Linked DNA regions of Homo sapiens: all the other regions are linked to region 2. Evidence: promoter capture Hi-C in human tissues and cell types (Jung and others, 2019). All regions are on one chromosome and are shown on one strand. Each heading gives the region's core, a stretch centred on a gene start or on the middle of the fragment in contact. The rest is flanking DNA. Distances are from core to core; before and after follow the strand shown. Region 1 overlaps PLCE1 (phospholipase C epsilon 1). Region 2 holds the start of SLC35G1 (solute carrier family 35 member G1). Region 3 overlaps PLCE1 (phospholipase C epsilon 1).

Region 1 (4,780 bases), core at 456-2,955, 340 kb before region 2:
CGTCTGTCTCCAGACTTCGATTGCAGCTCCGGATGACCTGAAAGATGCTGTTGACAGTGGACTCCTTCTCCGAATTCTTTAAGCCATTTTGTCCCACTCGTTGTAAGAAATTATCTTGTCCACTGTAATCTGCTACAAACTACAAAAAAAAATCGAGAATTTGCTATTGCAACTTAATATGCCTGGATAACATACTTGGCTAGGGAAATGAAATCATAAAGTAATAAATAATGGCATTTGTGCCTATTTTATGGGAAAGAAAACAAGAGCCTCCAGGAAAAACATTTTTTCATTTCACCACATGAAATATCAAAACTCACCCTTGTTTCCACTGAGACAACTTTAATCCCTCTGGGAATCGACACTCCACTTCAAATTTAAAACAAAAAAAATATTATTTCAGGGCTCCCTAAGGAGAAGATTAGCCAATTTGCAGAGGAAGAGCATGGTTATTTTATCCTTATAGTGAGAACTGAGAAAAACCATGAGTAAAGTATGCTATTCTATGGAACCAGAAAAAATGACTGGGCCCAAGCAAAACACTGAGAAGAGGTGATGTTTTGCTTTATTGCTCATGTGTTCTATAATAACACAGTGGCTTCTTCCTGGTTTTTAAGCTCTTTAAGCCTTATTGTTCATACAGTTGATTAGGAAGCTTCTCTCATCAGAGGTGAGAGCTGTGTCTGGGATAAGAGATGTGGAGTTCCCTCTTCTTAAGACATGAGGAAGCTAGGGGGTGTGGCCCGGGAGTCTTCCTTTAAGCTTTCTCCTCCATTTCTTGCCCTTTTATCCTAGCTCATAACCCAGAGAGATGCCGGTGGTGTTGCCTGTACCTGTCAGGAGCTCTTAAGTCTTTCTGATATCAGGTGATGCCTTTGCTCCCAGGTGACAAAGAAGAGGCTGAAGGTTGAGGAGAGTCTTCCCACTCCATGGAGAAGGCATGTACATGACTCTGTGTGTGTGTGTGTGTGTGTGTGTGTGTGTGTGTGTGAAAGGTCAGTAGTAGGTTCTGTCATCATGGCAGGAATGATCCTAGATTTGGGTTTGGTCCCCGGTAAGGGACTTCTCAAAATCTCCATAAAGTTCTTTCCATTTTAGTCACTTCTTTCATTTTTAAACACCTTGGAGGGAGCCTCCTTATCTTTTCCCTCCAGTTTCTCAACTCCCCTTCTCTCCAATGCCCAATGCCTTGGGTCAAAGCTCACACTGTCCCTTCTGCTCTGGGAATCAGGAACAGGAGGCAATGGATCTGGGAGAAACAAGGCTCTGAGGATCAGGAGCCTGGAGCTTGTCTCTACATGCGTCTCCAGGCTCCCCAGCATTTTCCCACAAAGGATGAACAGAAAGCAGTGTTGACTTCCCCTCTTTTTTCTTCCACTGATGTGGAAAACTTAATACTCTCAATTGACTGTCTTCATCCCCTGCATCCAGACATTCCCACCCAATAAGAAAAACCTGTCAATCTTTAAAAACCATCAGAAAACAACACCCTTTTTGACTTGTACTTACATATTAAACCTAATACATTAAAACTAACTTCACAATACTATGTCCCACACAGCGCTAGTTGGCATTCTTTTCTACAGAACTTCCAAGGATCTATGTGCTACCCAGAAATAATATAACAACTATTAACCCTGTGTTCAATCAGTGATCATTTCTTTGGTGAGCACAGACAGGGCCTGATGAGACAGCCAGCAACAGTGGCTCTTCAGGCCACGATGATTCTGAAAGGCCTTACCTCTAAAGTTTCTTCTTGGGAATTGTACCGCGGGCAAAGCTTCATGAGACCGGAGGCGCCGTCAAGCACTTCACAGAGCTCCTTCAGAAACACCCCACAGAATGGAACCACCTTACAGCCAGGGATGTGCAGGGCACGTGTCACCACCTTTCTGTACTCACAAGAGGACTCATGCTGGGCCATAGCATCCTTCAGGCTCCTCATGGTCTCAATATCAGACTGGTCCATGAACTGCCACATTTTTAAAACTTTTCTTGACCTATTGCAAGTAAATGACATTTTTCAGACTGAAGGAGAAATAATATAGTTTACAGCAAGGAGCCTAAATTCCATACAAATTCATTCTTTTTACCATTTTTTTTTTTTAGGTGGAGTCTCACTCTGTTGCCCAGGCTGGAGTGCAGTGGTGCGATCTTGGCTCACTGCAACCTCTGCCTCCTGGGTTCAAGCGATTCTCCTGCCTCAGCCTCCCTAGTAGCTGGGATTATAGGCGCGCGCCACTATGCCTGGCTAATTTTTATATTTTTAGTAGAGACGGGGTTTCGCCATGTTGGCCAAGCTGGTCTCGAACTCCTGACCTCAGGCGATCCACCTGCCTCGGCCTCTCAAAGTGCTGGGATTACAGGCATGAGCCACCGCGCCCAGCCCCAATATTCTTTACTTGTTAATATTTATGTAGGGTTCCTATCCCCACCTACTTCCCCAGATAATATGAATAATACTTTTGTAAATTGAAACTGAAAAATAAATAGGACAGATACAAACACAAATAGGCATATGGGACGCGTTAGTTATGGAAGCTGGGCACTGAATGTAGGTTTGAGTTTTTCTGGCAGCTATGGCCAAAAGGGGAAAGTAGAGGGTAATGTGGTTTGTACAGATATTGGTGGAGGAGGACTGCCTGGGGAAACTTGGCCCATCTGGCCCTCTTGATCTTTTAAATATTACTCTTGGATCAATCCAGTCCCTTAGTGATCAACATGAAGCCCATTGTTTTCACCTCTTCTGTAGAATTGATTTTTACTGAATCAAGCTTTGACATGAAGCCACCAGCCCATTTTGGGGGACCTTGTTGTAAAGTATTATTTGCATTACAGGATGTTAAGTGGGACTTTCCCTATTCTGAAACTCCTGCTGAGACCCACAGATGACAATGCACCACACCTTCTAAAGAGAGGCCCTCACAAGGTGTTACCTGAACTGCTTTGCCCACAGTGGTCTCCCACTCTCTTTCAGCCCATGCAGAGAAAGTGGATCTGAGCAGATAGCTTGGGAATATTTCTCTGGGGGGAATTGTGGGAGAGCTCACCTTTCTGTGAGAGGATGAAGTCACCCCAAGTGCAGGGGGCAGTAAGTGAATTCCCTGGGGACATTGACCTGTGTCCCGGGCAGTCTGTAGATCACGTGAACTGGTGCATGACTCTTGCCTAAAGATTTGAGGCTAGCTGGAGCTCCCTGGTGGCAAAGGGAGAGAGGATTCCAGTAGATATGTCCTGTGCTTGCAGAGTTGGGAGGGCAACATGCTGACTATTTCCTGTGAGTCAGGAGGGGATACTGTGCAAAGAGGTGGGGCTTGAGCTGTCTTGAAGGGTCTGCCTGCCAAATGAGGCGACCCTAGCAGAAAGGGCCTGTGAGGACAGGACCCCAGGGGGTGAGGAATAAGAGGTTGACCAGAGGGTACACTGCATTTTGCTAGGTAATTGTGCAGTGGGGAGATGGAAAAAATTAGAGAGAGTAACTAGTAAGAAAACCTAAAAGCACCCTCCATTGGTCTCTGTGAGGGCACCAAGGCCAGATTACAACTGCCCCATCAAGTAAGACTCTGTGCTCCCTCTATCCCCATCCTTTCCCATCTCCTCTCCTGTCCACTTCTTTTCTGCAGACACCCAGTTGCAGGGAAAAGGAAGAAAAAAGATAAACTCTATCTTCCTCACTACTACAAGTCTCTGAGACTGGTTGGGTTGTGAAACGTAAGGAAGGGAAGAAGATATATATTGAATGAGATATTAAAATTTTGATTTAGATTAACTGGGTTACAAAATCACTGTGTAATATATAAGACATCCAAAGACATAAAGAAGTACAACATGACAAACACCCATGTGCCAATCTCTCAGTTTAAAAAATCAAACATCAACAATGTGGTTGAGGCCCTAGTGTATTCCTCCAAGAGCACATACTCTATTCTTCCCTCACCAGACAGGACCACCACTGGTACTTTGGGGTTCTCCTTTCCTTAAAATTCTTAATACTTTTCCAACATATGCATATATCACTAAGCAAGTTACAGAATTGTGTATTTTTAAACTTTATGTAAATAGTATCACATGGTAGATAGTCTTAGACCAGGGGTCCCCACCCCTGGGCCGCAGACCAGTACTGGCTCATGGCCTGTTAGGAACTGGGCTGCACAGCAGGAGATGAGCAGCGGGCAAGCAAGCATTACAGCTTGAGCTCTGCCTGCTGTCAGATCAGCAGTGGCATTAGATTCTCATAGCAGCGCAAACCCTACTGTGAACTGTGCATGTAAGGGATCTAGGTTGCACGCTCCTTATGAGAATCTAATGCCTGATGATCTGATGTGGAACAGTTTCATCTGAAAACCATCTGCCCCCACCCCCACACCCCGAGTCTGTGGAAAAATTGTCTTCCATGAAACTGGTCTCTGATGCTAAAAAGGCTGGGGATCCCTGTTTTAAACAACTTGCTTTTTTTTTTTTTATACAGCCTTAAATTTGCAAGACTCATTCATATTCAAGAGCATAGGAGAATGAGATTGTGTGTTAACTAGGAAAGTGACTGGAAAACTACAGGATCTCTCAATGTAGCATAATCCAGGGTTGAGGGAGGGAGAGCTAGTTGGAAGCTTTGAAAGGCAATCAAATCAGAAAAGTAAAAGCATTTTATGATTTCATCCCACTAAATCCAGCTTGTCCTATAACTGGATTCTTATAAGACAGTGAGAATTCTTTTTTGGGGAATGAAGTGGAGGTTACAAACAAATGAAGTGAATGAATGAATGAGACATGGTTCTCACTG
Region 2 (4,948 bases), core at 1,714-4,213:
AGTTTTTCTTAAAAGAAACTCAACCCCTACATAGAAACTCCACCCTCAAACAGAACAGACCGAGAAGATCAAGGACAGAAAACATCTCCCTGCTCTGTTTCAAGTATCTTCTCCAACATAAACTTGCTAATTTTTCCCCAGGAATATTTTAACTTAACATTAAATATTTTAACTCTTTAAAAATGTAATTGCACCCCCTTGGCCCTAGTGACCTTTCCCCTTAAAACACATACACATGTATTTTCTTGCCTATAAACACTTAAGGCTCATGCTTTCCAACTGGGAAGGGACAGACATTAGAAGGCCTCGCTGCATTTGATGATTTGTTAACGAGGGTGAGGACTGGCTCCACTCAGACAAACCTCAGTTTCTTACTAAATCATTTCAATCCTGTCAATGGAGATGAGCATGACTAGCATAACTGAAAGAGGCATTTGTTTAGGTTCCATGTTCATATCTCACTGCAAGCATATCTAATAATTTGGTAACTCAAATTATTCAAATTAGGTAAGTGGCCATGGTGTAATTTCCTCACTTAGAAGAAAACTGAAAAATTACTCAGCTTCTCTATCCTCTGCTTTCAGCTGGTGATTCGCAATCCTGGTTGGGAATTAGAATCACCTGAGTAACACTTAAAACTTTAATTCCTGGGTGCAGTGGCTCATGCCTGTAATCCCAGCACCTTGGGAGGACAAGGTGGGAGGATCTCTTGAGCTCAAAAGTTTGAGACCACCCTGGGCAACACGGGGAAACCCCCTCATCAATGCAAAAAATATTTTTAAATTAGTCGGGTGTGGTGGTGTGTGCCTGTGGTCCCAGCTACTCAGGAGACTTAGATGAAAGGATCGAGTAAGCCCAGGAGGTTGAGGTCGCCGTGAGCTGTGATCACGCCAATGCACCACAGCCTTGGTGACAGAGTAAGACCCTATCTCCAAAAAAAAAAAAAATTAATTCTCAAGCCCCATCTCAGACCCACCGAAATAGAATCTCTGTAACTCTAAAAGGCTCCACTAGTTTGAGAACCACTGCTACACTCGATCACTAACTCCCTCCAGAGGATGTGAGGCACAGGCCTAAGAAACTACTTCTCCTTGCTTCAGTGTAAGACCCACACTGTCCCTGAAGAAAGTAAGGAGATGTCTTGGGACAGCTGTATGTGTCTGTTAAGGTCATCCAAGAATGTAAGACATATGGGTAACAGTTCCAACCAGAACTTGAAAAAAGCTTTGTTGAGATAAGCAGTTAGAACAAGAGGTGTCACAAAGTTCAATGACAACAGTAAAGTGTTTTTATGTCAATTTTCTTTCCAAAATATTATCTTGTCACCTTACAATAACTAAGTCTTACTGGTAGAAACTTTCTTTGAAGTTAAACACCCACAAGATTCTTAGATACACTCACGTAAGTTTCTCATCTTGCCATGAGCTGCCTGGGAGTAGAGAATTCCTCTTCCATTCACAAAAAGGGGAAACTTTAAGAGTTTGCATGGACTGATTCGGCATGCCACCAGAAGGACATTCACCCAGAGGGTGATAGGTGAGAAACTGACCTTTTCAAAGGCTGCTTATCTGTTCAATTCAGCCTGGCATAACCCCTGTTCTAGAGGCACCAGCCCATTTATAAATGATCACAAGTCTGATCATTTCGGTTTGCCTTTAGGACAGAAATGGAGCAAGAATAGTCTTCCTAGAGTCTGTCTCTCTAACTTGGGGAAAGTGCACAAAGGGAGGAGGGGAAAGCGCAGTGAGAGGAGAGGAACAGAAATCCAGGGTCACACTTAGGGGAGGTGACCCAGAGGACAAGGTGGTGCAGGCCGTGTAACTGTCCTAAAAAGAGATCTGCCTATTCCCTTCTTCTTGCAGGAAGCTGCTCCTGGTAGATGGTCGACTTCTAAGAGGAATGTGCTTGAAGCAGCACTTGTGGCCAGTGGAAAGGGCCCTAGGCCGGTATATGGCAAGCTGGGATCCTAACCCTGGTGCTCCCTGGACATGCGCCCCATCTCACCCCCACGTTCCACATCTTGGAGGAGACAAAGCAAACGAAAACCCAAAAGCCCTCACCTTCCTGGGCCTCACTTTGCTCATGTGTCGAAGGAGGGGGACTGAACATAAAGTGTTCTTCACGAGGGGTCCCTGACTTTGGGGACGGGGCTGTGAGCTTCTTAACAAGATATGCCTTGTTCTGCATCGTTTGCTAAAAAGTCCTTGTATCCCTAAAGGTTAAAAACTAGCGGTCCCACTTATCTCTGCCTTTCCAAGATTCTAAAACTCTAGGACGAACATTTTTTCTAGACTCGATGCTTTTCAGCTTCCTTTTCGGAGAGAACCCTTAACCACCGGGATCACTTTTCAGGGTCAGCTTCCTCGCAACGTCGCCCCACTGCAGGATGGCCTCTCTCGCTGACCCCCCACCTACGACCTAGGGGAGGGTACGCCAAACTGCAGTCTGACTCCACAGCCCTGCCCCGACACTAATTACAGGAGCAGCCTCGGAATCCCAAAAGGACTGCTAACAATCGGAAAGTTTCTTCCGTCTTAGCGCCGGCTGGGGCGCCGGGAATTCCGCTTTGCAGCCCCCCAGCTGACAGCTCGAGGGGTTTCCCGAGCCCCGGGCAGGGTGGGGACGGAGGCGCGGCGGGCACTGTGCCCGGGTTGCGGGGACCCCAACCCGCCGGCGCCCGCTCGGGACCCCCGAGCGAGACCAGAGCCCGATCCACACCGCGCACTCACCCGGCTCGGTGCGGGAGCAACACGGCGAGGAAAGGCAGAGCCAGCACCTACCGCGGTCTGGCGCCCCAGCTGCCTCGGCGGCCGCCGGCTCCTCAGTGGCGCCCGGGGGTGCATCGTCCGTTAGCGGCAGCCCGGGCTCCTGGAGCTCCGCGACCCCGGTGCTGTCCTGAGGCCGCATCTCGCGGCACGCGCTCTACCAGCGGCCGGTGCCGTCTGGCGCCAGCAGCAGCGCCTGGGCTGCCGCTCTTCCGGCGGGCGATGGCGCCCATGCGCATGCGCGCCCGGCCCACCCGCACCCTCCCCCAAGGAGACCGCGCGCGTCCTCCGCTGGCCTCTTAACCTGGGGAGACCCGCTGCCTCCCTGGTCGGGCTGTGGTGCCCACAGCTGGCTCTAAGGCGTCCAACCCTCTGCTGCGTTCAGGCTACATGGCCCAGCTGCTTGGAGCCATCCTTGGCAAGTCACACTGAACCTGTCTGTCATGGCACAGACAAGGAGGGGCGCTGGGTTCCCAAGCCCTGGCGCCCGGGGGTCCTGTGGCCTCCTTTTCAGGAGGCTCAAAGAGTGGGCGTTTTTTCATTGATGTAACCACGCATTCAGCACCTCTGTGATACCCCGAAGATTTTACAAAGCACCATGCTTGTCTTTAAATGGTCTAGGGTTTTTATGTTTTGTTTTGTTTTGTTTTGTTTTGTTTTGTTTCCCGTGTTGTCCCTTTGCTGCTTACCAAGGAGGGTAGAATTTTGCTGTTTTGGGAAATATTTTTAAGAAAGAATTAGTGTGTAATTATAGGAAAATATATCTATAAGACTGACCAGAACCCATTTATATGTTCTTTGCATTCTTTGCAAGAGTAGGCATGCATTATTGATCTTTGGTTTTCTTTTCTTAAATGGAAATATCCTAATTTGGCCAGATGTAAGATTCAAGTAATCTGATGTAATTAGACCTGGTAAAATATATTCTTTGGCCCAGGATTCACTAACAGCCTCTTTTTGTTTAGCTAATAATTCTTCTTCCATCTCTTTGCTTGCTTTATATGTGGAAGAACAGTCTCTGTGCAAGGATGAACGTATCTAAACTTCTAAGTCCAGTGCCAAGCAGATCACCAAAGGAGAGTGAAGTTTGCCTTTACTCAGACATTTGCACATAGTGATCCACAGCTGAAACAGTTTTAGACTTGAAGTCAGGAATCCTAGGTTCTGGCCCTGAGTGTGTGACCTCAGTCACCACTGTACCCCTCGAAGCCTTGATTACCTCCTTTATTTAATAGCGATCAAGTATTTCCCTTCCTGCTTCGCAGAGTAGTTATGTAAATAAAATGCAATGATGTGGGCAAAAGCATAATATCACCTGGAAAACACTATGTTAGAAAATCAAAGTGTGTTTTAAACTAGGGTCAGCATATAATTTATCCTCCAAACTGGACCTTTTTTTTTTTAAGAGTAAAAGGAGGAGCTCTTTTAAAAGTTACACAAGGGAATAGGCATAAACTGGGACTGTCCTAGGCAAACTGAGACAAATGGTCACCTGAATTCTAACTTGATTAACACATACTTTTGCCTTGTCTTAAAAGAGAATTTAAGGCTGGGCACGGTGGCTCAGCCTACCATCCTAGCACTTCGGGAGGCTGAGGTGGGAGGATTGCTTGAGCTTAGGAGTTTGAGACCAGCCTGGGCAACATAGACCTTGTCTCTATAAAAAAAATAATAATACTTTTAAAAGAATTTAAGGCTACTTACAAAAATATCTGTAACAGGTTTTGTTGTCGTTGTTTTAGATAGGGAAATTTCAGGGAAGGATGGTAAGGGTGGTAGATCATGATTATAAAGCAAGAACCAGGAAGCTTCCTCAAATATCTGGGAAGTCAAGTGCAGTTTCACAATTGCATTCTAAGATTTCGATATGGAAAGGGTTTGAAGAGTCCCCTCCTCTTAAATGGTGAAGATTATGGCTAGGAAGTGTGGTAAAGAAGAAAGAAGTGTGATGATTTGAGAAGGAAGTACCCTGACTGCTCCACTTTCAACACTTTCAACACCATCCTCGAAAAGGGAGAAGAAGAAGAGAAGAAAATGGGTACTACACCAGTTATTAAAGGTGGTGAGATGATTTCATACCTGCTGTTTATTCCCTTTAACTTCCTTCCCCTCCACTGCTGACCTTCATATATAAATGGTATCAGTTATATTCATTCTCCCATTTAGCTGACAGCCATGCTGAC
Region 3 (4,734 bases), core at 921-3,420, 300 kb before region 2:
TTCTCCTGCCTTAGCCTCCCACGTAGCTGGAATGACAGGCTCCCGCCACCATGCCCAGCTAATTTTTGTATTTTTAGTAGAGATGGGGTTTCACCAGGTTGGCCAGGCTGGTCTTGAACTCCTGACCTCAGGTGATCCACTTGCCTTGGCCTCCCAAAGTGCTGGGATTACAGGCGTGAGCCACTGCACCCAGCCAAGAATGAGATTATATCTTAATGTCACGCTTCATTGTCAGAAATATTGCCAGAAAATATTTGAACAGAGATTTATCCAAAGAAGATATACAAATATAAGCAGGTGAAAAGATACTCAACATCATTAGCTATTTAGGAAAATGAAATCAAAACCATGAGGTATCACTTCATACCTACTAGGATGGCTGTAGGTATGTGTTGTAGGACTAGCAAGTGTTGATAGGAATGTGGATAAATCAGAACCCTCATACATTGTTGGTGGGAATGTCAAATGGTGCAGACACTTTGGAGCAGTTTGGCAATTCCTCAAAATGCTAAACATTGAGTTGTATGACCCAGCAATTCCACTCCTAGGTACATACTCAAGATAAATAAAAACATATGCTCAAACATTTTTCTTGAATTTCATAGCAGCACTATTTGTAATGGCCAAAAAGTATACATAATTCAAATGGCCATCATTATTTTTACCAATAAACAATATGTGGTATACGCACATAATGAAATATTATTCAGCCATAAAAGAAATGAAGTACTGATTCATGCTACAATGCTGATGAACCTTGAAAACACTATCTTAAGTGAAAGATGCCAGACAAAAAAGGCCACTTATTGTGTGATTCAATTTATACAAAATATCCAGAATAGGCAAATCCATTGGGACAGAAATGAGATCACTATTTTCCAGGAGCTGCAGTTAGGGAGGAATGGGGAGTGACTGCTAGTGGGTATGTGGTTTCTTTTTGGGGTGATCATCATATCCTAAAATTGATTTATGGTGATGATTATACAAGTCCGTAAATATATGAAAAAAGCCACTGACCTGTATACTTTAAATGTATGTATTATACAGTATATAAATTGTATCTCAATAAAGCTGTTACAAATATCAAACAGAAAGCAACAGGCAAACCAAAAAGATATGTTGTATAGAAAGTAGAGTGCTTTCTCTACTTCTAGCAACACTTCTAGAAGGGGTGGGGATTGGGTGTTCTGGGCTGGTGAGTCCCACCTCATTATACCTGAGTGGGGTCCTCTCTCTCAAAGTCTTTTTTTATTTTTAAATTTTATTTATTTATTTATTTTAGAGATGGGTCAGCAAAGCCCAGGCTGGTTTTGAACTCCTGGCTGCAAGTGATCCTCCTGACTTGGCTTCCCAAAGTGCTGGAATTATAGGCATAAGCCACCATGCCTGGCCCTCTCTCTAAGTCTTGCACCTGAAAGGTAGCTTATAGATCCTCCTTTTCCACTTTAAAAGGCTCTTCCCCTCGGAGCTTCTCCTGGGGCTACAGCTGCTTCTTCTCTGGGGGCACTACCCAGCTGTGACAACCAGGCTGAGGGTGGATCAGACAAGAAATCATTATCTCAAAGGAACGAAGAAGAGAACACTTTATGCTATAATACATAGGATAGAGCAACAGCAAAACTCTCACTGTAACCCTCACCCTATAGAAGGCAAGCCCCTGAGCCCAGAGTGAAGGTGTATAGCAAGGAGGTAGTGTATATAGGTTAGTTTGGATTCAGTATTACTTACAATGCACCTTATACATTAAGTATCAGAAGATTATAATAGCAATAGGTGACTTTTATTGATCACAACAACCCTAACTAGAAGGAATTATTATCCTCATTTGACAGGCTGGCAAAGGAAGGCTTAGAAAGACTTAGTAACTTGTAGATCATATAAACAATGTGGCTGGGATTCAAACTCTGAGAGTTCAAACTCTAGAGTCTAAATTCTAAGAAGCATTAGATATCATCTGGCCTAATTCTTTATCTTATGGGGCAGAAACTGATGTTCAGAGGGGCTAAAAGATTTGATCAATATGACACAGCTGGCTAGAGACAGAACAAAAGGCCTAGACTCATAATCCTGTTCAAAGTTTCCCTGACCTTTTTTAGATGTATAGTACAGATATCAAAGAAATTCCCAAAAGTCAGGATTTCATATCCAGAGTTATTTAACTATTAGAGATAATGATTAGCATCATCTAATAGTCCTAAAACTATTGCAAGCAGGTGGGTATGTATTGCTTTCTTAAGGATTTCTAAGAAAGAAGTCTTCAAAATCTTCAGGGAGTTACATGAATGTCATGATCTTTTTCTATTAGTTTCAACATCCCAGAGAAAGGAAATCACCAAGTGAAGTGTTATCCTCCTACAACATGAGTTGTGTCATATCATTCCTCTTAAAAAAAAAAGGAGCCCCTAATTCTTAGGGTGACATTCCTAGATCCAAACTTCTGCTTCTATTTCATTTCTCATGTCTCTTTACACAGGGACTTCTTTCTTGTTTGGAGAAGGCTTGGCTCTCCAGGGTTTAGGCACTTAGTCCCCAAATCACAAACTCCTAGAACTGGAAGAGCCCTATTAGAAATCCGGACCAGCCCATTGCCCTTTCTCTCTAAGGCAGTGACTCTCAGCTTGGGAGGAGATGATGACAGTCTTGGACAGGGTTAGAGCAGGGTAGCTAGAGGAGGGGAGAACATGCTATGTTTCTGAAGTATATATTCAGCGTTATAAATGGTTTTATTCATGCTAGCAAATCTATTTTGAAGTTTCAAATCATATTAAATGTGGATACAACGTTTTTTTCTTTAACATTCTGGGCCAAAGAGTGTTGAGAAAACTTTACTTTAGATAAAGTTCCTATATTCTATGAATCCAGATAAAGACAGTAGAACCAACCCTAATATCAGCACCACTATCTACCACCTTTGTAATCATCAAGGAGTTCAAAATGGTGGCCCCTGTTTCCCCCAAACTTCTTGGTAGCCTCTAAATGGAGTTTAAAATATGATAGTATTGGAAGCAAGGAAAATTTTCTTATCTGTTCTAAAAGTAAATCATTACAAGCTATTAGCTGTCTAGAATTATTATCATCATCATTAGTTATTGAGTGCTTGATTCAGGGTCAATCACCTTGGTAAACACATTTCCTCAAATTCTCTTTTAATTCTTGCAACATCCCTACATATTAGATCAATGTTATAAGCACCACTTTACAGATGAAGAGACTGAAGAATACAATAGTTAGGAAACTTGCCTGGAGTCACACTGAAAGTAAGTGGTGAGCCTTGGATCTGAATTCAAATCTGAGCCAGGGCTCTTACCCAGGGCTACTGTCTTGTGCACTAAGTGAACAGTGCCCTCTGGAATTGTGCAGAGTCTTTGCCTCTTCCTGTACAATCCAACAGTGAGTCATCCGGGTAGACAGATGTAAAAGGGGCATGAAGTGATTAATGGGGAGAAAACAGGACAGCTACATTGCAGAGACAAGCCTTGAATGTGGTTAAAATGCCTGGACACCTCTTGGTCAGCAGTGAAGAGCAACTAAAAAATTAAGAACAGAGGGCTGTCTCTTAGTATTACCATAGGGACAAAAAATGAATGTGAAAAGCAAATGAATGAATGTAACCATTTGTTAATAGTTGTTGTGTAATTCCCCACGAAAAGGATGGCAGAAACTAGGCAAATTAAGAAATTTGGTTCTGGGTGGATTTTTATTAGCAGGATATCTGGTTCTCTCATTGGCACAGATAACAAAAAGTCACTTGTATCTGACTCCCTAATAGGCATCTTGCCTTGTTTGGAATAAGAACAGTAACTAAGTTTCTGCATCTAGTTTGAAATCCCACTTGAATATCATTATACTTTAAAACAGTGTGAAGTAAACATCTTTTAACTGTTAAGAGATGTTAATAAAGAAATCACACTGTAAAATGTAATAAAAAAATGCTTTAAAAAAAGACAATTTCATTCTACACTTTCTGTGACTTTAGCCTGCTTATCTCATCCATTGGTTGGTGACCAAGCTATTGAGCACCCAGCAGGGAAGCCCGCCTGGTGTTTATATGACAGTAGAGCGAATTTGTTTCAACTTACTTGCAGAAGTGGATTTCAGAGGAAGGGATTTGACAAAGTTGTTAAACCCCGTGGAGGCAGAAGAGGAAAGCTGGGATGGTTACAGAGCTAAGCACTGTCATTTTGAAATTCGTTTTGGCCCCCAGAGTATAAATACACCTCAGTATTTTTGTTAGGATTGCCAGAAAATCAGCAAGTGCTCACTTTCTTTTGCCAACAAAAGCATGACTCTCTGTGCAAAAATTTTCTGCACATTGTATAAACAAGAACATTCAGAAAATCCCCTCTTGCTGAGAGATATGACAAGAGATATATTAAACCATGCTGTAAAATAAAGCAGATACTAAGTACACCACTGTGTTCATCAAACACAAGAAAAGCTTTTATATATCCCTTCTGCCACAAACTTCTACATGTCATCCTATCCCCCAAAATATCTCCCCATACTGTGCTGGTCTGAGGATGGTGGCTTTCACCATCCAGGCTTTCACCTTTGTTTGCTGTGAGTCTTCTCCAATAGGCATTACCTAATCCATTACCTACATTTTCTCACCACTGCACCCTAGTTTCCCATCCCTGCAGGCTATTGTGTTGGCGGTCTCCAAGTGATCCATGACCTCCTATCCAAATCTCAGGCTAAAACTTTTCTTCCTCACAGAACCTTCCAGTTCAAAAA

Evidence for each region. The method cuts DNA at HindIII sites, captures the fragments that hold promoters and counts their contacts. A contact is called where the count stands out against the background at its distance.
Region 1: a contact is called between a fragment that was not itself captured here and the fragment with the promoter of SLC35G1 in region 2, in 2 of the 25 tissues and cell types used here (adrenal gland and mesenchymal stem cells).
Region 3: a contact is called between a fragment that was not itself captured here and the fragment with the promoter of SLC35G1 in region 2, in 1 of the 25 tissues and cell types used here (mesendoderm cells).

The regions. Positions count from the first base shown.
Region 1 is chr10:94,231,274-94,236,053 of GRCh38, reverse strand. It overlaps PLCE1 (phospholipase C epsilon 1), which reads right to left. Exons shown (of 33, transcript NM_016341.4): 6 at 1,742-2,000; 7 at 1-139. Among named protein-coding and RNA genes, the nearest start is that of PLCE1-AS1, 53 kb to the left of the region's middle. The HindIII fragment of the contact is 3,973 bases long and covers 1-3,691 here.
Region 2 is chr10:93,891,993-93,896,940 of GRCh38, reverse strand. SLC35G1 (solute carrier family 35 member G1) reads right to left here and starts at 2,963. Exons shown (of 3, transcript NM_001134658.3): 1 at 2,730-2,963. The coding sequence starts at 2,907. RefSeq lists silencers at 1,025-1,074, 2,560-2,989. The HindIII fragment of the contact is 9,096 bases long and covers 562-4,948 here.
Region 3 is chr10:94,193,162-94,197,895 of GRCh38, reverse strand. The region is part of intron 4 of PLCE1 (phospholipase C epsilon 1); the gene reads right to left. Among named protein-coding and RNA genes, the nearest start is that of PLCE1-AS2, 87 kb to the right of the region's middle. The HindIII fragment of the contact is 7,030 bases long and covers 1-4,734 here.